Regions from separate parts of the Homo sapiens genome. Here regions 1, 2, 3, 5, 6 and 7 are each linked to region 4. The links are contacts of gene promoters, found by promoter capture Hi-C in blood cells and fetal thymus (Javierre and others, 2016). All regions are on one chromosome and are shown on one strand. The core of a region is centred on a gene start or on the middle of the fragment in contact, and the rest is flanking DNA. Distances in the headings are between cores, read along the strand shown. Region 1 overlaps ZNF256 (zinc finger protein 256). Region 2 holds the start of ZNF606 (zinc finger protein 606). Region 3 holds the start of ZNF329 (zinc finger protein 329). Region 4 holds the start of ZNF470 (zinc finger protein 470). Region 5 holds the start of ZNF586 (zinc finger protein 586). Region 6 overlaps ZNF329 (zinc finger protein 329). Region 7 overlaps LOC124904784 (a long non-coding RNA gene).

Region 1 (4,216 bases), core at 451-2,950, 1.4 Mb after region 4:
CTTGTTGTCCAGGCTGGAGTACAATGGCACAGTTTCAGCTCACTGCAACCTCCTCCTCCTGGGTCAAGCAATTCATTCTCCTGCCTCAGCCTCCCAAGTAGCTGGGATTACAGGTGCCTGCCACCACACTCAGCTAATTTTTGTATTTTCAGTAGACACAAGGTTTCACCATTTTGGCCAGGCTGGCCGCAAACTCCTCACCTCAGGTGATCCACCCGAGGTGGCCTCCCAAAGTGCTGGGACTACAGGTGTGAGCCACCTCGCCCGGCCCAGAAGTTTTAACAGTGATGTCTACGAAGAGATGGAATTAAGGTCAGCATGTGATTAAAAATGTCCCCCTTGTTGGTTTTGTCATTGAGATTTTTTTTTCTTTATTAAAAACATTGAACAATACCAAGGTGGAGAAAAATTGTGCCTGTTCACCTACCTACTTGGGAGGCTTAGAGGGAGGATCACTTCTGCAAAGGAGTTTGAGGCCAGCCTGGGCAGCAGAGCAAGACTCTGTCTCCAAATAAATAATTTAATGAATAAGTAAAAACAGAAGGTGAAATCTGCAGTATAGTATTATCCTCATAGAATTGTGTCTCCCTTTCTTCATTATTCTGTGTGTCAATTATGTTACAAGTTTTTCATCTTATAGGAAAAAAGTCATAGATTCTATACACATCTGTACTTTTTCTCACTTAGCAATATGGTTTGAACAATGAAAAGCTTCTTTTTCACTTCACATTTGAAATCTGCTTATCTCCACATTCTATTTTTTTCTCCCCTTTTTGAGACAGCGTCTCACTCTGTTGCCAAGGCTGAAGCGCAGTGGCATGATCAAGGCTCAACTGCAGTCTCAACCTCTCAGGCTCAAGTGATCCTCCCATCTCAGCATTCAGGAGTAATTGGGACTATAGGCATGCACCACCACAACCAGCTAATTTTTGAGAGATGTGGTTTTGCCATGTTGCCCAGGCTGGTATCAAACTCCTGAGTTCAAGCAATCCTCCTGCCTCGGCCTCCCTAAGTGCTGGCATTATAGGATTCGGCCACTACACCTGGCCTATTCATCTTTTTCTGATGTAGAACCCACTCAGTGACAGTGTAATCAAGAATCAAGAAAGAGGCCAGATGCAGTGGCCATGCCTGCAATCCCAGCACTTTGGGAGCCTAAGGTGGGCAGATCACTTGAGGTCAGGAGTTTGAGACCAGCCTAGCCAACATGGCAAAAACCCGTCTCTACTAAAAATACAAAAATTAGGTGGGTGTGGTGGCGCACATCTGTAATCCCAGCTACTCGGGAGGCTGAGGCAGGAGAATTGCTTGAACCCGGGAGGCAGAGGTTGCAGTGAGCTGAAATCGTGCCACTGCACTCCAGCGTGGACAACAGAGCAACTCCGTCTCAAAAAAAAATAGAGCCAGAATACAATACACAAGCAACTGAAGTATTTCAACAGCAAAGAAACCCTCAAACAATCCAATTTAAAAATGTCAAACGATCTGAATAGGCATTTTTCAAAAGACAACATACAAACGGTCAAAAATATATTAAAACACACTCATCACTATCTGGGAAATGCAAATCAAAACCGCAATGAGGTATCACTCTCCCCGTTTAGGATAATTATTATCAAAAAGACAAAAACAGACGCTGGCAAGGATGCAGAGAAAAGGGAACTAATGGCCAGGTGCGGTGGCTCACATCTGTAATCCCAGCACTTTGGGAGGCCGAGCTGGGTGGATCACGAGGTCAGGAGTTCGAGACTGCCTGACCAACGTGGTGAAACCCTGTCTCTACTAAAAATGCAAAAATTAGCCAGGCGTGGTGGTGCGTGCCTATAATCCCAGCTACTCAGGAGACTGAGGCAGGAGAATAGCTTGAACCCGGGAGACGGAGGTTGCAGTGAGCCAAGATCATGCCACTGCACTCCAGCCTGGGCGACAGAGAAAGACTCCATCTCAAAAAAAAAAAAAAACCCAACAAAATACAAGAAAAGGGAACTCATGCACTGGTGGTGCAAATGCAAACCAGTACAGCCATTATGGAGAACAGTATTGAGGTCCCTCTAAAAACTACAAATATGCCAGGCGCGATGGCTCACGCCTGTAATCCCAGCACTTTGGGAGGCTGAGGCAGGCGGATCACGAGGTCAGGAGTTCGAGAACACCCTAACCAACATGGTGAAACCCCGTCTCTTCTAAAAATACAAAAATTAGCAGGGGTGGTGGCACGCACCTGTAATCCCAGCTACTCAGGAGGCTGAGGCAGGAGAATTGCTTGAACCTGGGAGGCGGAGGTTGCAGTGAGCCAAGATCACACCACTGCACTCCAGCCTGGATAACAGAGTGAGACTCTGTCTCAAAAAACAAAACAAAACAAAACAAAAAACTACAAACACAACTACCATATCATCCAGCAATCCCCCTACTGGGAATTTATCCAAAGGAAAGAAAATCATCACATTGGAGACACATCTACACCCCGTTTACTGCAGCACTATTCACAATAGCCAAAATATGGAATCAACCTAGATGTCCAACAACAGATAAATGGATAAAGAAAATGTGGTTTATACACACAAAGGAATACTATTCAAAGAACAGAATGAAATCCTATCACCTGAGGCAACATGGATGGAAATGGAGGACATTATTTAAGTGAAATAAGCCAGGAACATAAACATGCACATTCCCACTCATATGTGGAAGCTTTAAAAAAAAAAAAAAAAAGCTGGGTGCGGTGGCTCACGCCTGTAATCCCAGCACTTTGGGAGGCTGAGGCGGGTGGATCACCTGAGGTCGGGAGTTCAAGACTAGCCTGACCAACATGGAGAAACCCTGTCTCTACTAAAAATACAAAATTAGCCGGGGTGGTGGTGCATGCCTGTAATCCCAGCTACTCAGGAGGCTGAGGCAGGAGAATCGCTTGAACCCAGGAGGCAGAGGCTGCGGTGAGCCAAGATCATGCCACTGCACTCCAGCCTGGGCAAAAAGAGTGAAACTCCATCTCAAAAAAAAAAAAAAAAAAAAAAAAAAAAAAAGCCTGGGAGACAAAGCAAGACTGTCCCCCACCCCCACAAAAAAAAGTTGATCTCTTAGAAGTAAAAAGTAGAACAGAGGATACTAGAGGCTGGGAAGGGTAGTGGGTAGGCAGGAATAGACAAAGATTGGTTACAAGCTACAAAATTACAACTAGACAGGAGGAATAAGTTCTAGTGTTCTATACCACTACAGGAGAACTAAAGTTAATAATATATAATTTCAAGTTGTTAGGAGAATGGCAATTGAGACTGACTGTTCCCAATATAAAGGAATGACGAATGTTTGAGGTGATGGATATGCTAATTACTCTGATCACTCTAAGTTATAGGTATCAAAACATCACTATGTACTCCAGGAACATGTACAATTATAATTTGTCCATTTAAACACAAAGAATTTTTTTAAAAAAAGAAACCATTTGGTTTTCTGTGTGGATATGAGACAAAGTAGTATGTACACATATAAACTTATTTGTATAAAACAAAATTCAGAGAACATATACTAAATATAAAACATGGTTATTGAAAATACGTATTTATTTATTTATGTCTGTGAATTTTGCAGGGACACTTCTCAGTCCGTAACAGCCCTATGTGTGTTACCTAACCTTTATCCCTTGTGAACGTTCTGATGTTTTAGGAGGTTGGAGTTGAAGGTAAAAAATTTTCCACAGTCACTACACTCATAAGGCCTTTCCCCACTGTGAATTCGCTGGTGATTAGTGAGGTTAGAGCTCTGGCTAAAGGATTTTCCACATTCACTGCATTCATAAGGCCTTTCTCCGGTATGAACTCTTCGGTGTTTAACGAGGCTAGAGTGGTTACTAAAGGATTTCCAACACTCACTGCACTCATAAGGCCTTTCTCCGGTGTGACTTCTCCTATGTCTAATGAGGCTGGAGCTCTGGCTAAAAAACTTCCCACATTCATTGCACTCATAAGGCCTTTCTCCAGTGTGAACTCTCTGGTGTTGAAGGAGCGTAGAGCTATGAGTAAATGATTTCCCACACTCCCCACATTCATAAGGCCTTGCTCCAGTATGAACTTTCCAGTGTGAGATGAGGTAGGATTTACAGGTAAAGGATTTTCCACATTCACTGCACTCATATGGCCTTTCTCCTGTGTGAACTCTCTCATGTACAATGAGGTCAAATTTCCTGCTAAATAATTTTCCACATTCATGACATTCA
Region 2 (3,803 bases), core at 663-3,162, 1.4 Mb after region 4:
GGTGAGTCACTATTAATTAACACCGTTTTAAAATTACCAACCAATGCTATATAAGTAAAAACAATAAAGGTAAAAATATATATGAGAGCAGTAGAGACAATATTTTATTATATGTATCACTGTTGTTTAGGAAACCCCACAAACCACCAGAAAAATCCCTTAAAACTAATGACACCTCTCAGGAGATGACTATAAAACATAAAAGTTAGTGTCTTTTATGCCAACAATTTTCCTCCTTTACCACCAATCAGTTCTAATTTTGTACCAAGATAGACAGACCCCCTTCCATCCTCAAAAGTCCTCAGCCCATCACCAGCTCTGACCCATGACTGCAGCAGCTAATGATAGGGGAGGCCCAGGAGAAACACAACTTGGACTCACCCCAGGAGGCCCACGGGTTGATGGCTGCCATCCCGAGGACTGATTGACCAGGCACCTGCCCAGGAACACAGCAAATCCCAACCTAGTGACAAAAGTGAAAAAAGACAAAACTAGTCCTTTCTCACAGAAGACCAAGTGGGAACAAAGAAGGGAATCCATCCACCGAAGCAACAAAAAAACTTGTAAGGAGCATCGTAAGAAAAGAGAATTTACATGTCAAAAAAGTAACACAATTCCTGGAGAGAAATGAAAGGTAATTTGCATAAGCTGGAAAAAAGAGCATGATCCTGAATGAGAGGGTACAAATTTGTCAGCTATTCCCAAGAGACAGCCAGTCACAACACAGATGGAACTTTTGGATTAATCTGACAATTATTGTAAAATCAACTTGCAATCCTCATATATTAGTGGTTGCCTAGAGCTGGGGGAAAAATGAAATGGGGAGTGACTGCTTAAGGGGAACAAGGGTTTCTTTGTGGGGTGATGAAATGTTCTAAAATTAGATAATGGGGATGATTGCACAACTTTATTAATATACAATAAAACCGGTGAATTGCACACTTTTAAGTGCTTAAAGTGAACATTATGTTATGCAAATTTAATCCCACCTCCAAAAAAAATTCACCTCCAAGATTTACTAAGCCTAAGCTTGTGTGTGTGTGGAGGACTTAGAGATGGGCCTGGCGCCCAGACCCCTAACTCCTCAGGTTCCAGATCTTTGTACAAGTCAGCAACCTCTCGAATGGATTCCTGGGTATGTGTATAAAGCACTAGAACACACAGTGGGCCTCAGGAGCACCGGAATCAGCGCGAAAACGCAGAATGCAAACCGTACTTTGCACCATTATTTGCAACTTGACAGTGACCGCCGCCGTCACTGCATGTTTAAGGGAACCCGGAGCTGTTTCCAACCCAGGTCTGACGTCCTTCACAGTGCTTTGTGTGAACTGGCAGGGGGAGAAACGACGGCTGGGGAACGAACGGGGTTATTCGTCCCATCAATGGCCTCAGAAGCATCCTTATCACCTGCTTCCAGAGCTCCCGACCCAAATTTCCTCCTCAAGACCGACGCGGCCGCGACGCTGCAAAAGCTCGTCCCGGCCTCACCTGGCTCGCGGCCGGCGGTCCCCCTTGAAGGCGGCGCAGCAGGATCGGGGTCTGCCCGCCTGGGGCGTTTGGCTTTTGTCCCGCGCCGAGGTCCGGCCCAGGAGTGCGCTTGGGAGCTCCCGGCGCGGCCTCGGGGACAAAGGCCCGCGGAGCCGACGTGCAGCAGAGTTCACCCAGGCCCGTCCGACCAGAAAACGAAGAACGCCCGGAGGCGGGAGGCCGGAGGCAGGCTGCTGGCTGGAGAACCGACGGCAACGACGGCGCAAAGCCGGCGCGGAAAGGGCAGGCGCAGGACCCACCCTGACGCCGCCTCTCCCAGCCGGCTCTCCTGACCCCCCAAGCCCCGCAGCTACGGCGGCCCCACAGCCTGAGCAAAGGCCTCACCTCAGCCGCGGACAATGGCGGCTGCTTCCCCGGCGTCGACCGGAGCGCGCCGCGGGGTCTGCTGGGAGCTGTAGTTCCAGGCGGGCACTTCCGGCGTCGGGCAGCGGCGCCGCCATGACAGGTTCCTGGGCCGCGCCGCCTCGCCCTGCCTGGGCGGGGTTGGGACCTTTCTGGCACCTGCGTCGAAGCCGGCGGCAGGATGGACTTTGTTGTCCCGGTCCCAGACCACCCTCCTCCACCGTCGCCTCCCACTGCAAAAAGGCCTGGGTAAGTCGCGGCCCCGCGGGCCTCGGTTTGCCCATCCGCAAAATGGCGCCTCGTGGTACCGGGTTTCCCGGGAGGAGCTCGGCGAGTTCTCAGCGCTCTCGAGGGATCCTTCCATTTGGCGTTCGCAAGATTGTGAGAAAGTGACTGCTGTTATTCTCTTTAAGATAAGGAACCTAATTCGAGCTACCCTTCTCTGTGAAGCTCGACGGCTGAGAACGTCAGGGCTCGTTCCCAAGTCTCTTTCCAGAGGCCAGGCTTTATGGGAGCATGGGTTACCAGCGACGCACCCTGTGAGTTTTCCTCTATCGATATGCATGGAGCGGTTCGGGAGCGGTGGCTCATTCCTGTAGTCCCAGCACTTCGGGAAGCTGTGGCGGGAGGATCAGTTGAGTTCAGGAGTTCGACACCACCCTGGGCAACATAGCGAGACCACATCTCTACAAAAAAAATACAAAAATTAGCCCGGTGTGATGGCGCGCGCCTGTAGTCCCCGCTACTTAGGAGGTTGCGGTGGAAGGATTGCTTGAGCCTGGGAGGTCAAGGTTGCAGTGAGCTATGATCGCACCACTGCACTTCAGCCTGGGCAACAGAGCAAGACCCGGCATTAAAACAAACAAAAACGGGCCGGGCGCGGTGGCTCACAGCTGTAATCCCAGCACTTTGGGAGGCCAAGGCAGGTGGATCGCCTGAGGTCAGGAGTTCCGAGACCAGTCTGGGCAACATGATAAAACCTCGTCTCTACTAAAAATACCAAAAATTAGCCGGGCTTGGTGGAGGGCACCTGTACCCAGCTACTTGGGAGGCTGAGGCAGGAGAATCGCTTGAACCCGGGAAGCGGAGGCTACAGTAAGCCGAGATCAAGCCATTGCACTCCAGCCTGGGCAGCAGGGCAAGACTCTGTCTCAAAAAAAGGGACTGAGGGACTGTAGGTGGTGATACCAAAGAAAGCATGGCCATTTAGGAAGCTAGACTTGAGTGAGCAGTGGGCAAGAGAGATTTTGAAGATATTTCCACTAGTAATGGAGGATCATTTTAAAAAGCTGGCCTGTGGGTTGGGCTTTTGTTGTTGGGTGGTGTTGGCACTCACTGTGGGTGGGCAAAGGGGAGTAGCCCTTTCAGAGGGAGAGGAAAAGTTCAAGTAGGACAGGCTGAATTCAAGGGAGAGGAAAATTTCAAGTAGGACAGGCTGAATTCGAGGGAGAGGACCATGAGAGAGGTAAGGTGGAAGGGGCAAGGTGTTGGGACAGGCCCCAGCTGGCAGGAAGGTGAACCCAGTCAGAGTGGGCACTGAGAGGAAAGCAATCTATGGATGGTACAGCCACAATTTCCATCTCAGGATCAAGCAGAGAAAGAGAGGCTGGAGAAGGAAGAGTGACAGAAGTAAGAAGAGAGTGTCTCTCCACTTCCACTCCAGCCCCCTACAGCTCATCCTCCAGCAGGCAGCCAAGGGCACTTTTAGGATCTCACATCAGGTCCTTGCCTCACATTCTGCACTGGCTTCCCAAGTAATTAAAGTAAAATCCAAATTCCAGCTCACAGCTTAGAAAACTCAGCAGGACTGGCCTCTGTCCTATCCCACACCCCACCTCAGTCCCTCAAGCTCATCTCCTGTCATTCCTGCCCATTTCTGGACCCCAGCCACTCCTCAAACAGGGTAAGTCCAT
Region 3 (3,815 bases), core at 166-2,665, 1.6 Mb after region 4:
TTTCTTTCCCAAGATATAAGAACCCTCTGTTGGGTTATAGCTCGGGACCCCCTTTCTGGTAACACCTATGCATGTGTCTCAGGCAGGGAGAAGATAAAGATAAAGCTAATGTGGCAAAAAGTGTTAATAATTTTAGAATCTGGATGGTTTTAGAAGTGTTAAACTATTCCTGCAACTTCTATGCAAATGCGGAACTTTTCAAAATGAAAAGTTGGGTGAAGAGAGAGGTAAACAAGCAGTAGAATGGAGGAAAGTCACTTGCTGTGGGAAAAAAGAAAAAACAGACAAAAACTGGGTATTCAAAACGTACTTCAACAAGCCCAAGTTCCTATAGCCAAATTTTTTAACTTGGCAAAAAATAAAGGACCTTTTCAGGCTGATGGTAATTTTAATAAAGGTTTAGGTTGCATTTGTCAAAATTCATCAATGGTACAGGGAATATCTGTGCATTTCACTGAAAGTCAATTTTGGCTCAAAAAATTTAAAAAAGCACTACTGAACTCTAATTCATGGTAAGCATAGTGAGGTGTTTGAGGGAGAAGTGTTGTGATATCTGCAACTTACTTTGAAATGTTTCCAAAAATAGGTGGATTAATGAATGGCTGAAAGGATGGACAGAAGGAAAGATAAGGGATACAGTAAGTTCAGCAGACGTTAACCGGGTCGTTCACTGCACAAGTCTTTCAGCTTCTCTATCTAAACCAACATTTTATGTCATAAAATATTGAGACTGGAAGACTGCACAAAGGAAATATGCCACTAAACCAAGGGAAAAGACAGCAAAATGGTCACTAAACACGTGCAAAAATGCGGCCCTCACTGAGAATTGCAGTAAAACATGATTTTGCAAATATCAAATGGAAAAACACACAGGTGATCTAACACCTTCGAGACTCAAGGGGAAGCGGCTCAGCCCACTGGCTCACGGCCGCCAATTCAGCCGGAGGCCGACCCAAGCCTACACTGCCCCTCACACCTGACAGAAAAGCTGCAGACTCGGGGGTTACCCCCGGAGACGGACCAGGACACCCAGCAGGCGTGGCAAAACAGTCTCTATGGGAGGGCGGGCTAGAGATGCGAGCGCGGAACTCACGGGTGACGCTAAGGAAAGAGCGGGGGCGTCCAGACCAGCCCCGGAGCGACCTCGTCCTCAGAGGAGTGACCCCAATCGCCACGGAGCGTCCCCACCCACCAGGAGAACTACGCCCCTGGCCAGACCCTCGCCCTAGCGGGCCCGACATGCCCACCACCCAGGTGAAACCCACCCGCGGACGCGCCCCTCGCCGCCCCACAAGGACCCGGCGGACCTCCACCCGCCAAGACTTCCCTCCGCAGGAAACGGAGGCAGCGCAGGGCTCAGGGATGCGTCGGCACTTACGGTTGGCGGCCGGCGGCAGCCATGTTCCGGGCGATTGCGCTTGCGCGGCTGCCGGGACAAGGATGTGCGCGTGCGCGGAGTCCCCGAGCTTCCCCCGCCCAACGCTGGGGCGGCCGCGGGTACCGGGTTATTCATTACCCTGGCGTGGACTTGCCTCGGGGCGGACGCGCAGGCATTTACTTTCTCCTATGGTCTCCTCTGATTTTTAACCCGATGCTATCATTCTTTTGTTATAGAGCCTTCCTTTTATTTACTGCATAATTTCCTAAAATATTTCTTTATCTATAATCTTTTTTTGAGATAATAATGTTAAAATTCAGAATAAGTACACTCATTATTCATTGGCAATATAATTATTTACTGGGTGCGTGGCTCACGCCTGTAATCCCAGCATTTTGGGAGGCCTAATTTGTTAAAATGACTAGATCTAAGAAATGTAAACAAAGCCAGTAACTTTCCTCTGTAGTAACAATAGCCGGTTGAAAATGAAAACTACACATTTTCATTCTTTCAGTGGTTCTCTTAAACTTTAGCATGGGGAAGCCTAAATATTTACTGACAGGGAAGAGAGAAACTGTGGTATGTGCAACGGAGCAATAGGGGGTGGTTAAAACAAACGGACTGGGCTCACCTAAGGTCAGGAGTTTGAGACCAGCCTGGCCAACATGGTGAAACCCCGTCTCCACTAAAAATACAAAAATTAGCTAGGCGTGGTGGCAGGCGCCTGTAATCCCAGCTCCTCGGGAGGCTGAGGCAAGAGAATCACTTGAACCTGGGAGGCGGAGGTTGCAGTGAGCTGAGATCGTACCATCACACTCCAGCCTGGGGGACAAGAGGGAGACTTCGTCTCAAAAAAAAAAAAAAAAAAAAGGACTAACTTATATACAAGATAGACAGTTCTCCAAAAACAGTTCGAAAAGTAAACTGTGCACTTATCCACATGATACAACTTACCTGGAAATAAAAGACACAAAATCTATATGTTATACAGAGATTGATACATAAGTAGTAAAGTAACAATAACATGGACCAGATAGATTGTCCAACCTCAAGAAAGTGGCAACTGAGGGGAAAGAGTTGGGGAGGAGACAAAGGAGACCTCAGTTACACCTGTGATGCTTGATAGGAAAAAACAAATCAAAACCTGAAAATCTGACTACATGTTAACACAGGTAAAATCTCGATGATACATGGGTGTCATCTTTATTATTTATAGATTATTCTATTACTCTCCGAACCTCTCCGCAGGTTGAAATACTTCACAATTTTGAAATGAAAATTAGAAAAAAAATTCTAAGCCATAATAGTGATTAAATTGTCACTCACAATAGTGATGGTTGGAGCAACTTGGAAATCAATTAGCAAAAGCAATAAAGGATCTTCATGAAGAAAATACAAAAACCTCATTAACAGACCTGAAGTTAAGTTCAGAACACACTGACATATTATTCCTGAATGGAAAGTATTTTTTTAATTTCTCCATGAAGGCCGTATCAGACCAGGCACAGTGGCTCATGCCTGTAATTCCAACTCTTTGGGAAGCCGGGCTGGGGGGATCACCTGAGGTCAGGAGTTCAAGATGAGCCTGGCCAACATGGTGAAACCCCATCTCTAAAAATATAAAAATTGGCTGGGCACAGTGGCTCATGCCTGCAATCCTAGTACTCGGTCTCAAAAAAAAAAAAAAAATCTTCACAAAACTACTAAACAAAAGTATAGCAATTCCAATTCAAAGACTCCCCCCGCCCCCAGCTCACAGAATAAAACAACTTAAAGATCATATGGAGAAAAGTCCAACAGTATCTGGTTAAAAGAACAGTCGGAGACCGGACGCGGTGGCTCACAACTGTAATCCCAGCACTTTGGGAGGCCGAGGCAGGTGGATCACTTGAGGTCAGGAATTCAAGACCAGCCTGGCAAACATTGTGAAACCTGTCTCTACTAAAAATACAAAAATTAGCCGGGGGTGGTGGCGGGTGCCTATAATCCTAGCTACTCCGGAGGCTGAGGCAGGAGAATTGCCTGAATCCTGGAGGCGGAGGTTGCAGTGAGCTGAGATCGTGCCACTGCACTCCAGCCTGGGTGACAGCTATACTCTCGTCTCAAAAAAAAAAGTCAGGCACCCTTTATTAGATACTAAAATGTACCATATTAAGCAGATGGGCTCAAATAGGCACTAATACAGACACAAATATCAGAAGAATAGAAGAGTATGCAAGAAGAGATGAGTAAAAGTAATAATCTAGTAATAAAGTTAACAATAAAGCATAACATCATTAATAATAACAAGGGTGTTTTTTCCATTCAGTGGCAAAGAGAAATCCTTAGTGCTAAGTACTGTGCTGGCACAAGTGTATATTCTTTTTTGTATTTTTTGAGACTGAGTCTCACTCTGTCCCCCAGGCTGGAGTGCAGTGACAAGATCTCAGCTCACTGC
Region 4 (3,678 bases), core at 1,179-3,678:
TTTTCTTTTTTCATTCTTTTTTTTTCCTCTTTGTATTTCAGTTTGGGAAATTTCTATTAACATATCTTCAAGCTCACCCATTCATTTCTCAGAGTGTCTTAGTCTGAGGGGCTCACTAAAGGTAATCTTCATGTCTGTTACAATGGTTTTCAATTGCTAGGATTTCCTTTTGATTCCTTCTTACAGTTTGCATCTCTCTGCTTACATTACCCATCTGTTCTTGCATGTTGTCTACTTTTTCCAAGATGCTTCTCCTTCTGTGGGCTTCCCTAAGAACTCCTTCTTAAATAGAGTCTGTGCCTTGCAGTTTTCTCTGTTGTAATCTACTGTTATTGACCAGAGCCCCATTAGTGTGGCAGTGAGGTACAGTGGGGAGGGAAGCATTCTATAATCTTATTATTAAATACTATTTTTCTAGTGGGCTTGAGGCCTTGGACTGTGATCTTCAGAAGCACTTCTTAGCCTTTCAAAAATCCTGCCTTACTGAGACAGACAGGCTATAGAGGGACTGGAGCTGGCCAATTGCCTCTCCCCAAGGTCCAACAAGACTCTAGTAAGTAGTTTTTCTTGGAGTGCAGGTGTTTATTATGGAAAATGTGGTGCTTACTTTTCTCCTCCCCTTGCCCAAAAACCTGAGATTTTTCCCCATTCTTCACTGAGAGAATTTGATAGGGTTTCTGGAGGTAAAATTCACGAAAGTGTGGGGGCCCATCTAAGATTGGGCCCCTAGGAGTTTTTAACTCACAAGTTAGCCCACACTAAGCCTCCAGCAATTCATCAAAATTATAAAAAATAAAAGTTTTTACCAGTTTATAACTCCAGTGGCTTCTGCTTCAAGTAAGCTAATCTTGGCTGTAATTTTATGTATTTTTCTTTCTCGGGATTTTGGGGTGTCAGTTACCTTTCTATCTTCAGTTCTCTGATGGATCTAAGAAAAGTTGATTTTCAGTTTGTTGAATGATTTTGTTGTTGTGAAGATGGGAATGAAGGCTTCCGAGCTCTTTATATGCCAGAGCTAAAATGAGAATATTATCATTTTCATCCAACTCAAATAACCACAAACGTTACAAGCTCTAAGATGATATTTGCTGTTTCATAGTTAAAGTATCTTCACAGCTAGACTTGGCTTTATTATGTTGTTTATGATGTCTGACATAAATTGGATCCAGGAGAGTCCAGTCTAGATGTCACTGTGTGGCCTTGGGTGATTGAGTGTGACTGGGAGGGTGAGTTAGTTTCTGGTGAGCCAGTATCTATGATGCTGTATCTTGGTCAGCTGGGGCTGCTATAACAAAATATCATAGACTAAGTGACTTGACTAAGAGACTTTATTTTTCACAATTCTGGAGGCTGGGAAGTTAAAGTGCTGGCACATTCAGTTCTTGGTGAGGGCCCCGTTGGCTTGCAAATGGGTTACATCCTGCTGTGTCCTCACATGGCCTTTGCTTGGTGGTTGTGTAAACATGGAGACCCCTCCTTCCTCTTTTTTAATAAGTGCACTGACCCCATCATAAGGGTATCACCCTTATGACCTAATCTAAAACCAGTTACCTCCCCAAAGTCCCACCTCCTAACGTCATCACACTAGGGGTTAGGGTTTCACCATAGTAATTTTGGGAGGACATATTCAGCCTATAACATGTTGTGTCATGGTGAGACTGGCAATGCTAGATTTCGTGATTTCCTAAAAAATAAAATAAAAATAAAAAACTAAGCACCTACTATGTGCTGTTTTAGTCACTGAGAATATAACCCTGAACAGGACGGAAGCTGTGTGCCTTCTTGGAACCCTCCTTCCAGCAGGGAGAGATAAAATGGGGTGGGGGGAGGTGAGGGGCGTACCGTATATCAGAGAGCAGTAACTAGTAGGCATGAAATAAAACAGGTTCCACACGCGCACCATCAGAAAGTCACAAGTGTGCAAAGCAGACAAATCCCAATCTCCTCACTTTTCTATCGCGTAGGCCCCGCCCGCGCCCCAAGCCCCGCCCTGTCATGGTTTTCCTCTCCAGAGGGTAGCCGCTACGCCTTACCGACTGCGTTTCAGTGCTGTCCCACTGCTCCTGCACACCCCACGCCTGCGACCCTACCCACCACGGACAGGCGCTCCTGCGAGCTGGAAGCCAGTTCTCTGCGTCCTGAGCCTGGCAGCTGCATCTGAACACTCGGAGCCTGGCGATGGCTTCCAGAAACCCCTGCGCCGTGGGTCGCTTCAGTGAAGGGGCCTGTACTTCGGCGACCCAGACTCCGGGCTGAGAGGCCTCCTAATCCAACCAGGAGGACCAGGAGAGGCCCAAAAGGGGACACAGGGCAGTGACCGCCAGGCTTGGAGAGGAGCCGCTCCTGGCAAAGCCAGCGCCCTATTTCTGAACGCCGCCTCCGTTCCGGACTACACTTCCCAGGGGCTATTGCAGCGGAGGACACGCCCACTTCCGGAAAGGACCCAAAGCCGGGCGAGTGCACGTCCCGCCGGTTGCTGAGGAGAAGGGAGGTCTGGGCGGGGCAGCGGCCGAGGCTGGACTGGGGCGCGGCGGGGGCGGTGTCCTGGTTCCTGTGTGGGCGGCGGGCGTGAGCGTGCGCGTGTGGCCTGGTGGCTGTGAGTGCCCATACGTGGTGAGCGTGCGGTGCTGTGCTGAGGAGGGGCGAGCGCGCGCGGGGATGGCGGCCCGGTGTGTGACTGTCCGGTGCGTGGCCGCGAATCTGCGCCTGCGTGCATGGCCCGGCGGCGTGCGGAAGGCGGTGTGTGTTGGAATGAGTGAAGCACTTTAAGTGGCCAAGAGCAGGAAACCCGGCCGGAGGAGGCTTACCCCGTTCTCCCCTGTATCGACTGCGTAGAGCCCAGTGTGGGCAAAGTCCTAGAGCCCGGGGAAGTTGCCCGGGCGGGGCAGCCTCGGCTGAAGCATTTCCTGTCAGCCCTATCTGGAAGGGGCAGAGCCCAGGACAGGGCTCCATGTCCACAGGACGGCGAGGAGCGAAGACCATGGGGACTGAGTACACAGGTAAGAGTGACAGATGACGGATGTGGCTGCCGGAGTGGACATTGAGGTTTTGGGTGCTGTCTTTCGGGGTTCAGGTGCTGGAGGAGGATGTCCCCCGTTTCTAAGGCTAGTGGACCTGGAAGTCGAAAGATTTGGAGGGTCACCTTGGGTCAGAGTGGAGCTGGGTTTAGTTAGGGAGGGACCTTGACTTGGCCAGAGACACCTAACCAGATAACCTGACTCAGGTCCTTGGTATATCACTAAGGGCCCATGGGAGAGAACACTACCCGTAATATTACCCATTATAGCATTACTTCTGGGTACTCTGCTGCTGTTGAAGGAATAGCTCAGCATTTAGATTTTTACCCGTCAGAGCCTTGTCCCATCTATCACTGTAGGATTTGGGAAGAAGGCGAGATTCACAGCTTCACCCAGAAATGCCGAGGCATTCCAGCCTTTCTATGGCTTAATCACGTTCTAGTCAATAACGGAAGATATCCCCATTCCTTGGGCTTCTCTCCCTCCCCTCTGGCCTCCCACTCCAATAAAGAGAAAGGGGGAGGAAGGGCTATTTTTAGCCATATTGTTCTGTGCTTGTTTAGTTTCCTGCATGCTATAGTAATAGCTAATGTTTAATGAGTGTTTATTATGTGCCAGACACAGTTCTAAGACCTTTTGGGAGTATCAGCACCAAACTTCA
Region 5 (3,610 bases), core at 185-2,684, 1.2 Mb after region 4:
GGGAATGCAGCCGAGTATTTCTCAGCCTTACTTTATCCAGCCCATTTTCAAGATGGAGTCACTCTGATTCCAATGCCACTGACAATGATAAGCACTTGCCAGCAAAGAGGTGAACGCATGGATTTAAGGCACTTGAAATATCTCAGTGTAAAAGCACCCTGTGCATGTAGCAGGACGAGCCGCAGACAAAACCTCTCAGACACCGAGTTGCAGAAGGAAGGGCTTTATTCAGCTGGGAGCATTGGCCAGCTACTGTCTCAAAATCTGAGCTCCCGGAGTGCACAATTTCTGTCCCTTTTAAGGGCTCACAACACTAAAGATTTCACATGAAAGGGTCGTGATTGATTTGAGCAAGCAAGGGGTATGTGACAGGGGCTGCATGCACCGGTGGTCAGGGAGGAACAGAACAGGGCAGGGAGTTTCACAATGTTCTTCTATACAATCTAAGGAATCTATGAATAACATCGGCTTCTAAATCATAAGTTGATTTTTAACTACTGGGTTTAGGCCAGGCGGGCCTAGGCCTGGTTTCGGGCCTGGCGCGGGGTTGCCTGTCTTTGGTTTTACTTCCTTGTTGTTTTTACTGAATATAAAACAATGTGAGAGGGTCTCTCTCTTCTCTCATGCATACATACTCCATGTTTGAACACCGCAGCCATTGTCCTGTAACATAATAGCATTTGTCTCATTAGCTTTTTGATGTTGATATCAGATTTCTAGAGGAATCTGTAGGTTAAAGATATAAATAAAAGTGTTGCTAATGGGCTGAGAACGGTGGTTCACGCCTGTAATCCTAGCACTTCGGTAGACCATTGCAGGCAGATCACTTGAGGCCAGAAGTTCGAGACCAGCCTGGCCAAAATGAGGAAACCCCGTCTCTACTAAAAATACAAAAATTAGCAGGGTATGGTGGCACACGCCTGTAATCCCAGCTACTCGGATGGTTGAGGCACGAGAATCGCTTGAACCCGGGAGGCATAGGCTGCAGTGAGCCAAGATCACACCACTGCACCCCAGCCTGAGTGACAGAGAGAACTATGTCTTAAAAAAAAGACAAAAAAAAAAAAAAAAGGAAGAAGCCGAGCATCACAAATTCTGAAATAAGAAGTCTCCAAACACGCGGGCAATCAGTTGCACACAGTACCCCCAGAAATGTGCGTATGGCCTCTTCTAAGATGGGAGACCCTCCTCCGCATCTGGACCTGGAGTCGCCATTTCCTAGCGCCCCTCGCAGTGGAGCTTGCCCCTTTCTTCGGAAAGTCGGAAGAAAGCCACCTTAAGCGCTGCCCATGTCTGGGAACTACATTACCCAGAATCCGCCCTGCGAAATGGTAACGTGGCTGAGCCAATGAAGCTTCAGAGAAGCCGTGCCATTGCCGGGGCACGTAAAGTCAAGCCAGGACTTCCGGCGTCCTAGCCGTGGCAGCCATTTTGGCCTGTCAGGTCCATCCGGCGATGCTGGGTCTGGACGAGCTCGGGAGGAGTGGTTGTGGCCATTGCACACAGGCGGATCTGAGGTTCGGCGACGCCGCTGGTCGCGACCCGGGACAGGACAACGACAGGAACACCGCCGAGCCCGCGTTCCCCCCCCGCCCAGAGTCATGGCGGCAGCAGCCGCTCTGAGGGCGCCTGCTCAGGTGAGCGCTGCGACCTCCGGGCCTTACCCACCCTACCCACCCAGACCCTGAGGCCCCTGATCGTGAGGGCCGCCTCCTCGCGTCCCTGCAGCCCAGGCCTCTGTCAGGGACGGAGAGGCGCCGGCGGGTGGGATCCCTGTTTCCGACACCCAGTTGATGCGGTCGGCAGAGCGAGACTGGCGGAGGGCAAAGGCCTGCAGGCGCGACTGAGGCAGGAGGATGCGGAACACGGGGACATCGTGTGTCTACTGGGAAAGAAGTGTGATACGGAGTTATTTCTTTTTTTTTTTTTTTTTGAGACGGAGTCTCACTCTGTCGCCCAGGCTGGAGTGCAGTGGCGCGATCTCGGCTCACTGCAAGCTCCACCTCCCCGGTTCAAGCGATTCTCCTGCCTCAGCCTCCCGAGTAGCTGGGATTACAGGCATGCGCCACCACGGGGTTTCACCATGTTGGCTAGGCTGGCCTCGAACTCCTGACCTTAGGTGATCCGCCCACCTCGGCCTCCCAAAGTGCTGGGAATACAGGCGTGAGCCACCGCGCCTGGCCGAGGCGGAGTTGTTTCTTCAGTACCAGGCTGAGGGTTGAACTTTGACTGTGAGGACGCTAAAAGCCATGGACAGTTTTGAACAAAGGAGGAAATCTGTGTTAGAGTTGCGATTCCCAAAAGATGTTCGAAGGAAGAACAGAGTTGAAGGCAGTGATGAGGACATTGAGAGGTTGAATCATTGAGAGGTGACATTGAGCACTGGGCCACAAGATTAGAGACTCAGTCTGAAGTCATCTGGCTGCAGGGCCAAAAAAAGCTTACAGAGAAGCCTGAGTCTATCAAATCCGAGCACAGACACATTTGTGAAAGCCCTGCCTTTTGGCACACCTCATGGCTACAGAAGCACTTACAGAATCCACAGTAGGAAGTAGGGGATGCTCTAGTCCTTCACTGGTCCTCATCCTATCCCACATGTCTAGATCTTGGCATCTTTTTTTTTTTTCGGCGACGGGTTCTCACTCAACACCCAGGCTGGGTTGCGGTGACGCGATCACGGCGCAGCACGGCCTCGACCTCTCCGGGCTCAGGAGAGCCTCTCATCTCAGTCTCCCGAGTAACTGGCTTTTTGTATTTTTAGTAGAGGTGGGGTTTCACGGCCGGGCGCGGTGGCTCACGCCTGTAATCCTAGCACTTTGGGAGGCCGAGGCGGGCGGATCACGAGGTCAGGAGTTTGAGACCATCCTGGCTAACACGGTGAAATCCCCCCTCTACTAAAAATACAAAAAATTAGCCAGGCCTGGTGGCACACACCTGTAGTCCCAACTACTTGGGAGGCTGAGGCAGGAGAATCGCTTGAACCCGGGAGGCAGAGGTTGCAGTGAGCCGAGATCGCGCCACTGCACTCCAGCCTGGGCGACAGAGAAAGACTCCGTCTGAAAAAAAAAAAAAAAAGAGAGAGAGAGAGATGGGGTTTCGCCATGTTGCCCAGGCTAGTCTCGAACCCTTGGGCTCAAGCAGTCCTCTTGCTTCGGCTTCCCAAAGTGCTGGGATGCCAAGCAGGAACTACCGCACCTCCTAGGACACTTAAGTGCCATTTCTCCGGTCCTTCAATCTGGGGATCTTGGAAAAACCTCAAACCCCAAACCTACATCAGTGACATAGGTTATGGGGAGTTGTTGCTATGTCTGTCAACTAATGTAACACATGTGGAGGGTTCACCCAGGAACTGATACTGGGGTGTGCAAATACTTACTTAGAAGTGAAACTAGAGGGGTGAGGTGATGTTACCAATTTCTTAATAGGCGCTGTCTGGTTACTGAGTGGGCAACAGACTGTGGGGTTGAGGGAGGAGGAAGATCAAACTGGAAGCTACTGCCCTAGTCGAGGTGAGGATTAATGGACTAGAGTTGTGGCTTAGGCAATGTGGCTAGATCTGGATTTGTGTTTTTTAGAGGGGCAAGTCAATTTTTTTTTTCCCAAGATGGAG
Region 6 (3,889 bases), core at 667-3,166, 1.6 Mb after region 4:
AAAGGTTGATTCAGGCCAGGCAGTGTCTCATGCCTGTAATCCCAACACTTTGGGAGGCTGAGGTGGGCGGATCATGAGGTCAGGAGTTCAAGACCAGCCTGGCCAACACAGTGAAACCCTGTCTCTACTAAAAATAGAAAAAATTAGCCAGGCATGGTGGCAGGCACCTGTAATCCTAGCTACTTTGGAGGCTGAGGCAGGAGAACTGCTTGAACCTGGGAGGCAGAGGTTGCTGTGAGTGGAGATCATGCCACTGCACAGTGAGACTCTGTCCGAAAAAAAAAAAAAAGTTGATTCAGTGTTTGCTTACGTACAAGGTGGAAACTCCCTACTACAGGGCTCTTCATTCCAATCATGTTCTGAATGCATTCACAGGTTCTCTCTGTGGTGTCACCCCCATGTTTGCACATTTCATTCCAGTGTGTGTGTTGTCATGTCTGGTACAGACTGAATCATCCCCAAAGACTTTTCTGCCCTCATCCTAAGTTGTCTCTGGAGTTCCCCAATGAGCAGACTTAACAGTGTGGCTCAGCAATGTCTCACATTCATCAATTCACTGGATAGCTTAAAGGATTCTTTTCTACTGACCAGAGAGGAGTCAGATCTAAGACACGCCTCCTAAACACAGGAGTGAGAGTGAACTGGAAGACTCATGTGGCCCCCAACCATTATGTTTCCATGGGTTGCTCTCCCAGGTGTGCTCTTTGATGTCGAACAAGGGATGAGCTCTTTTGGAACATTTTTCCACACTGAGGACACCGGCTGGGACCCTCCCTGCTATGGAGTCTCTGATGTACTGCCAGGTGAGAGTTCTGCTTGAAGGACTTCCCACATTCTGGACACTGATATGGGGTCTCCTTAGTGTGAATTCTCTGGTGCTTGGTCAGACAGGAGCTGTCCCTGAAGGCTTTGCCACACTGATTACACTCATAGGGCTTCTCACCAGTATGAGTCCTCTGGTGCCTAATGAGGCCAGCGATATTCCTGAAAAGTTTCTGACACTGGTTGCAGCCATAGGGCTTCTCGCCAGTATGAATCCTCTGATGCCTGATGAGGTACGCACTCTCGATGAAAGTCTTGCCACATTCTTTACATTCATAGGGTTTCTCCCCAGAATGGATCTTTTGATGCACAATGAGGTGAGAGTTTCTGTTGAAGGATTTCCCGCACTCTGCACACTCAAAGGGCTTTTCTCCAGTGTGAGTCCTCTCATGCTGGGTGAGGTACGAGCCGTCCCGGAAAGCCTTTCCACATTTGCTACACTCATAGGGCTTCTCACCGGTGTGGATTCTGAGATGCACTGTAAGGTGGGAGATGTCAGTGAAGGGTTTCCCACATTCGTTACATCTATATGGTTTTTCCCCTGTATGAGTTCTTTGGTGCAAAATTAAGGATGAATTTCGGTTGAAGGTTTTTCCACACTCTAGGCATTCATAAGGTTTCTCGCCTGTGTGAATTCTCTGGTGCTGTGTCAGAGCTGAGCCATCACTGAAAGCTTTCCCACATTTACTGCATTCATAGGGCTTCTCTCCTGTGTGGATTCTTTGATGCACAATCAGGTTGTAGTTCTTGGAGAAGGACTTTCCACACTCATTACAAGTATAAGGCTTCTCTCCGGTGTGAGTTCGGTGATGCAAAACAAGAGAAGAGTTCCGTTTGAAGCATTTGCCACATTCAGTACATCTATATTGTTTCTCTCCAGGGAGATTTCTCTGGTTTTCATTAAGCGATGAGCTCAGAGTAAAGATGTTCTCAAAATTCTTACCTTCATACGATTTCTTGCCTCTTTTCATTATTTTCTGATGACCAAGAGAGGTAAAATGATTAAAAGACTTAACACTTTCAGGGTATTTGTAGGGCTTCTCTCTCACTGGATTTCTTCCATGAATAACTTCCATGGAATGGTTGAAGCCTTTTCCACAGGCATCACTGTCACCAGTTCTCTTATCTGCATAACTTTTAGGATAGCTGGGTAAGGCGGGGTCACAATCCAGACCACTAACATTTGAGTCAGGTGCATGGAAACCATTTGTTGCCAGAACTCTCTGAGACGGTGGAAGGTCTGAGCTTGCAATCAAATGCTCCCCAAAACCAGGATATTCACAAATTGCTTCCTGAGTCCCTGGTTTCTCCAGAGTTAAAGCTGATTGCCTCAAGTGTCCCTCCTGGTTCTCACAGTCCCAACCATCACCTAAACTGGACAAGCAGGGAACTTCCCTTGTGAATCTTTCCACTTCTACATCACAGGGTACTTCTCTCTCAGGAAAATTCCGAGTCGTCATTTTCAATCTCATATCCCAAACTGCAAAAAGAAGAAAAATGCAGACTTAGGTATATGAAGCTTTATCTGTAAGAGAAACAGACAATGATGATGGGCTAGGTGTAAAGATGTGTATTTTTTTACTTGTTTTCTCTTTTAAATTCAAATTTATACAAGGAAGAGGTAAAATCGTAGCCAAGGAATGGAACCAAGAACAGATTCAAAAAGAGCCATGTAGCATTTTCATCTTCCTAGAGAGCAGGCAGGAGGAATGGACCTCGGGATAAATCATCACCAAAAGGATTAGTTTGAGATGTGAGAGACCAGAGGCCAAGCATCCCTGCTCCCCCTAGAATTCCATCCCAGCCACTGCATTCTTGTCCCTGTCACACACTGCCCATCAGTACACATTTCCAAAGCTCTGACTTCACAATGAGCTTACAACAGCACTGAAGGAACAGTTCTCACCCCAGCTCTGTCATCAAAGTTCTGCATTCATGGATAGGACAAAGCACAGGCTTGGTGACCTAAAAGTTCTGGGTCTAAGTCTTAGAACTGTCAATGACCTGGCGGGGCACAGTGGTTCACTCCTGTAATCCCAGCACTTTGGGAAGTGGAGGCAGGTGGATCATTTGAAGTCAGGAGTTCAAGACCAGCCTGACCAACATGGTGAAACACCGTCTCTACTAAAAATACAAAAAAAATCAGCCAGGCGTGGTGGCACATGCCTGTAGTCCCAGCTACTCTGGAGGCTGAGGCAGGAGAATCACTTCAACCTGGTAGGCAGAGGTTGCAGTGAGCTGAGATCACACCACTGCACTCCAGCCTACGCGGCAGAGTGAGACTCCATCTCAAAAAACAAAACAAAACAAAAACTGTCAAAGACTGCCCTGCATGGTTGTTATAAAAACTGGATCATGTCGGCCAGGCGCGGTGGTCACGCCTGTAATCCCAGCACTTTGGGAGGCCGAGGTGGGCAGATCACAAGGTCAGGAGATTGAGACCATCCTGGCTAACGTGGTGAAACCCCGTCTCTACTAAAAAAATACAAACAATTAGCCAGGCGTGGTGGCGGGCGCCTGTAGTCCCAGCTACTCGGGAGGCTGAGGCAGGAGAATGGCGCGAACCCGGGAGGCGGAGCTTGCAGTGAGCCAAGATCGTGCCACTGCACTCCAGCCTGGGCCACAGAGCAAGACTCCGTCTCAAAAAAAAAAAAAAAAAAAAACTGGATCATGTACAAAGCAGTCTCCAAGGCTAGGGGATGAAGGGCATTCTGTAAATGGTTGCATGTGTCTTCATGCATATCAATCTTCCTGTCACCATCCTTGTCCATTCAGACTTCACAATATTAAGACAACTGGTTGTCCATTCATTCGTTCATTCATTTGGTGGGATCGGGTCTCGCTCTGTCATTCAGGCTGAAGTGCAGTGGTGTGATCTTGGTTCACTGAAGCCTCAATCTCAAAAACTTCAAGCAATTATCCCACCTCAGCCTCCCAAAATGCTGCAAATACAGGGATGAGCCATTGTGCCCAGCCTTCTTTCTATTTTTTAAGGTAAAATGAAAATAGACCCTTGCCTCAGAATACATACATACATATATGTCTACATTCTAGGCAATTTAAATAT
Region 7 (4,087 bases), core at 1,573-4,072, 1.6 Mb after region 4:
GAAGACATTTGTCTGAAAACCATATGCCAGGCCAGGCGTGGTGGCTCATGCCTGAAATCCGAGCACTTTGGGAGACTGAGGTGGGTGGATCACAAGGTCAGGAGTTTGAGACCAGCTTGGCCAACACGGTGAAACCCCGTCTCTACTAAAAAAAAAATACAAAAATTGGCTGGGCATGGTGGCGTGTACCTGTAATCCCAGCTACCTGGGAGGCTAAGGCAGGAGAATTGTTTGAACCCAGGAGGCAGAGGTTGCAGTAAGCCGAGACTGCGCCACTGCCCTCCAGCCTGGGTGACAGAGGACGACTCCGTCTCAAAACAAAACAAAACAAAATAAAAACAACAACAACAAAAATGCCATCCTGAAAGTGGAAAGATTCACAAAGAATGAGCTTCATTTCTTCACATTTGGAAGAAACCAGGACTGTAAGGTCCACTTAGAGAAGCAGAAGGAGGACCAGGAGAGATGAGTCAAACAAATGATGCTTGAGGAACACTGATTCAGGAATGAGGTTGCAAGAATAAGAAATGCACAGCTAATGTTAAGTAGAATTCAAGCCTTCTTCCACTAAACAATATTCTTTTTTGTTTTGTTTTGTTTTGTTTTTGAGACAGAGTCTTGCTCTGTCACCCAGGCTGGAGTGCAGTGGCAGGATCTCAGGTCACTGCGAGCTCTGCCTCCCGGGTTCATGCCATTCTCCTGCCTCAGCTTCCAGAGTAGCTGGGACTACAAGCGCGCGCCACCACACCCAGCTAATTTTTTGTATTTTTAGTAGAGACGGGGTTTCACCGTGTTAGTCAGGATGGTCTCGATCTCCTGACCTCATGATCCACCCTCCTTGGCCTCCCAAAGTGCTGCCATTACAGGCATGAGCCACCGCGCCTGGCCTTGTTTTTGTTTTTTGAGACAGAGTCTCATTCTGTCACCCAGGCTGGAGTGCAATGGCATGATCTTGGCTCACTGCGACCTTCACCTCCTGGGTTCAAGCAATTCTCTGCCTCGGCCTCTCAAGTAGCTGGGATTCAGGCACCCGCCACCACACCTGGCTAATTTTTGTATTTTTAGTAGAGACAGGGGTGTCGCCATCTTGGCCAGGCTGGTCTTGAACTCCTGACCTTGTGATCCACCCACGTTGGCCTCTCAAAATGTTGGGACTACAGGCGTGAGCCACCGTGCCTGGCCCACTAAACAATATTCTTATCAATGAATACCACTACATACATGACTCATTGTAAAACAACATTCAGATTTAATAAACCATAAATGCACAGGGAAAAACCCCTGAAAATTATGATTTTGGGAATGCTTTTGGTCAAAACACTCAACTTCTTAGACTTGCAAACAGTTCAGTGTAGAAAAGCCTTATATATGAAATATACGTAGTAAATTTTTTAAGTGTAGCACAAGTCTCAGTCAATGTAAGCGAATTCATGTTAGAGAGAGTTGAGTTGAATGTAAGGAATGTGGAAAAGTGTATTCAGAGCTCCTCTCATCTTTGTTTTGAGAGCACTCACACAGTTGACAAACCCTCCAGATGTTCTGAATGTGAGAAATCCCTGTTTATGGTAAATACTTTCTGACATCAGAGAAGTCATACTGGAGAGAGACCATATAAATGTAGTATGTGTAAAGAAGTCTTTAAACAGAGCTCAACCCCACTGATGTATGAGCAAACTCTCTCAGGAAATAGACCTTACAAATGTGTTGAGTGTTGGAGAGTCTTTATTAAGAAATATTTCTTTCAGTATGTTTCAGAACTTATACAGGAGAACAATACTATAAATGTAATCGCTGTAGCAAAGGCTGTAGACACAAATTATACCTTATTCAATATGAGACAATTTATACTTGTGGGAAATTATATATTTGCAGTGAATTTAGGAAATTCTTCTAAAGAAGTGAACACTTTTACCCTATAGCTAAGAATCTATAGAGACACCTTATGAAGGGAATCATTCAGGGAAAGGTTTTACACTTTGCTCCTCCACTACTCAAAAATCACAGAAGACACACTGGAGAGCAAAGTGATGGATACAGTCATCGTGGGAAAGGCTTCAGACGTAGCCTAGCCCTTATGATGTGACATCAGAGGACTCATACTGAGGAAAACCCCATACATGTAATTTGCGTGGAAGAGCATTCAGGAGTTGTTCTCATATTATTGAACGTAAGAGGACTCATACTGGAGAACACTATGAATGCAGTCAGTATTGGCAAGCTTTCAACCATGGCTTTTACCTTATTTGACACCAGGAAATTCAAACAAATTAGAAAAACTCATTGAAAAAAGATCAATGTGGAAAAGCTATTGGTTGGAATTCCATTTTATTTGACATCAGGGATAAAGGAGGCAAAAGCCACCAGTTATTTTTTAACTCTTAAGTATCTGAATGTAACAAGACTGCAAACTTGTGACTCCCTGCAGCCACAGATCAGCAGGGATAAGCAGTTCTATTCTACATATGTCCCTAATTTGCCATAGAAACACCATTTAATGGGGACTCAGGGTCTAGGCCTGATGAACAATGTCTCATAGAAATGTCTGGCCATATGCGGCTGGGCACAGTGGCTCACGCCTGTAATCCCAGCACTTTGGGAGTCCGAGGCGGGTGGATCACGAGGTCAGGAGATCAAGACCATCCTGGCTAGCACCGTGAAACCCCGTCTCTACTAAAAATACAAAAAAAAAAAATTAGCTGGGTGTGGTGGTGGGCGCCTGGAGTCCCAGCTACTCAGGAGGCTGAGGCAGGAGAATGGTGTGAACCCAGGAGGCAGAGCTTGCTGTAAGCCGAGATCGTGCCACTGCACTCCAGCCTGGGTGACAGAGCAAGACTCCGTCTCAAAAAAAACAAGAAAAAAAGAAAAAGAAAAAGAAATGTCTCCCATATGCCTGTAATCCCAGCTACACAGGAGGCTGAGGCAGGAGAATAGCTGAACCCAGGAGGTGGAGGTTGCAGTGAACCAAGATCACACCACTGCCCTCCAGCCCGGGCAACAGAGCAAAACTCCATCTCAAAAAAAAAAAAAAAAATGGTTGCCATAGATAATCATGGCTGGGCACAGAGGCTCACACCTGTAATCCCAGCACTTTTGGAGGGCAAGGCAGGTGGATCACTTGAGCTCAGGAGTCCAAGACCAGCCTGTGCAACATGGAGAAACCCCGTCTCTAATAAAAATACAAAAATTAGCTGTGCGTGGTGGTGCATTCCTGTAGTCCCAGCTACTTGGGAAGTGAGGACTGCTTGAGGGGGTCAAGGCTACAGTGAGCTGAGATGGTACCACTGCACTCCAGCCTGGGTGACTAAACGAGACCCTGTCTAAAAGAAAAGAAAAGAAGAGAAATGGTTGTCATAGGTAATCACATGTAAATTTTTTTTTTTTTAAAGAGTGAGCAACAGTAAGATTTATTGCAAAGAGCGAAAGAACAAAGCTTCCACAGTGTGGAAGGGGACCCAAGCGGGTTGCCCATAAATGTTATCAGTGGCAACAGCGTATCTGTTTTTCTACATCACGTATGAATAAAAGAACCGTCAACCTTGAAGAATGGTGCAGGAATCATATGGCAACAGCGTATCTATTTTTCTACATCACGTATGAATAAAAGAACCGTCAACCTTGAAGAATGGTGCAGGAATCATACACCTTTTAGCATCATGGGGATCCTTATGTGTATAATTTTATGATAGTCCTAGATGAGGGCTGAAGGATATGCTATCAATTTTTTTCTGCATAATCCAAATATTATCACTCCAAACAAATCAGAGAGCTTTATACTAACTTGCTAATACTTTGCCAATAGCATTCTTCTATCTACTTGAATAGAAGCATCATAAAGAGTTGTATGTTGGCCAGGCACGGTGACTCACACCTGTAATCCCAGCATTTTGGGAGGCCGAGGCAGGAGGATCACCTGAGGTCAGGAGTTTGAGACAAGCCTGGCCAACATGGTGAAACCCTGTCTCTAGTAAAAATAGAAAAATTAGCTGAGTGTGGTGGCACATGCCTGTAATCCCAGCTACTTGGGAGGCTAAGGCAGGAGAATCAGTTGATCCCGGGAGGTAGAGGTTGCAGTGAGCCAAGGTTGTGC

What was found. The method cuts DNA at HindIII sites, captures the fragments that hold promoters and counts their contacts. A CHiCAGO score of 5 or more calls a contact.
Region 1: a contact is called between a fragment that was not itself captured here and the fragment with the promoter of ZNF470 in region 4, in 1 of 17 cell types (non-activated CD4 T cells). The highest score is 6.6, in non-activated CD4 T cells.
Region 2: the fragment with the promoter of ZNF606 here is called in contact with the fragment with the promoter of ZNF470 in region 4 in 1 of 17 cell types (naive CD8 T cells); the score reaches 5.1 in naive CD8 T cells.
Region 3: a contact is called between the fragment with the promoter of ZNF329 here and the fragment with the promoter of ZNF470 in region 4, in 10 of 17 cell types (non-activated CD4 T cells, total CD4 T cells, naive CD8 T cells and 7 more). The highest score is 11.2, in non-activated CD4 T cells.
Region 5: a contact is called between the fragment with the promoter of ZNF586 here and the fragment with the promoter of ZNF470 in region 4, in 2 of 17 cell types (non-activated CD4 T cells and activated CD4 T cells). The highest score is 9.6, in non-activated CD4 T cells.
Region 6: a fragment that was not itself captured here is called in contact with the fragment with the promoter of ZNF470 in region 4 in 4 of 17 cell types (non-activated CD4 T cells, naive CD8 T cells, naive CD4 T cells and 1 more); the score reaches 9.5 in non-activated CD4 T cells.
Region 7: a fragment that was not itself captured here is called in contact with the fragment with the promoter of ZNF470 in region 4 in 2 of 17 cell types (fetal thymus and activated CD4 T cells); the score reaches 6.9 in fetal thymus.

What each region holds. Positions count from the first base shown.
Region 1 is chr19:57,937,288-57,941,503 of GRCh38, forward strand. ZNF256 (zinc finger protein 256) reads right to left here. Exons shown (of 3, transcript NM_005773.3): 3 at 3,546-4,216. The coding sequence ends at 3,637. Among named protein-coding and RNA genes, the nearest start is that of ZNF418, 4.0 kb to the left of the region's middle. The HindIII fragment of the contact is 1,983 bases long and covers 710-2,692 here.
Region 2 is chr19:58,000,908-58,004,710 of GRCh38, forward strand. It overlaps ZNF606 (zinc finger protein 606), which reads right to left and starts at 1,913. Exons shown (of 7, transcript NM_001348022.3): 1 at 1,489-1,913; 2 at 382-463. The coding sequence starts at 412. ZNF606-AS1 (ZNF606 antisense RNA 1) reads left to right here and starts at 1,987. Exons shown (of 4, transcript NR_036508.1): 1 at 1,987-2,139; 2 at 2,304-2,429; 3 at 3,476-3,793. RefSeq lists an enhancer at 1,845-2,264. The HindIII fragment of the contact is 14,498 bases long and covers 1,028-3,803 here.
Region 3 is chr19:58,149,374-58,153,188 of GRCh38, forward strand. ZNF329 (zinc finger protein 329) reads right to left here and starts at 1,416. Exons shown (of 4, transcript NM_024620.4): 1 at 1,379-1,416. RefSeq lists an enhancer at 1,493-1,552. The HindIII fragment of the contact is 7,703 bases long and covers 1-3,815 here.
Region 4 is chr19:56,565,040-56,568,717 of GRCh38, forward strand. ZNF470 (zinc finger protein 470) reads left to right here and starts at 2,429. Exons shown (of 6, transcript NM_001001668.4): 1 at 2,429-2,999. ZNF470-DT (ZNF470 divergent transcript) reads right to left here and starts at 2,982. Exons shown (of 2, transcript XM_047439806.1): 1 at 2,034-2,982. The coding sequence starts at 2,982. The coding sequence ends at 2,044. RefSeq lists enhancers at 2,109-2,158, 2,169-2,378, 2,759-2,868. The HindIII fragment of the contact is 7,993 bases long and covers 1-3,678 here.
Region 5 is chr19:57,768,242-57,771,851 of GRCh38, forward strand. ZNF586 (zinc finger protein 586) reads left to right here and starts at 1,435. Exons shown (of 3, transcript NM_017652.4): 1 at 1,435-1,637. The coding sequence starts at 1,602. RefSeq lists enhancers at 1,159-1,698, 1,420-1,669. The HindIII fragment of the contact is 1,086 bases long and covers 1,353-2,438 here.
Region 6 is chr19:58,127,210-58,131,098 of GRCh38, forward strand. ZNF329 (zinc finger protein 329) reads right to left here. Exons shown (of 4, transcript NM_024620.4): 4 at 1-2,302. The coding sequence starts at 2,294. The coding sequence ends at 669. Among named protein-coding and RNA genes, the nearest start is that of ZNF329, 22 kb to the right of the region's middle. The HindIII fragment of the contact is 846 bases long and covers 1,494-2,339 here.
Region 7 is chr19:58,164,812-58,168,898 of GRCh38, forward strand. The region is part of intron 1 of LOC124904784 (a long non-coding RNA gene); the gene reads left to right. Among named protein-coding and RNA genes, the nearest start is that of ZNF329, 16 kb to the left of the region's middle. The HindIII fragment of the contact is 1,212 bases long and covers 2,217-3,428 here.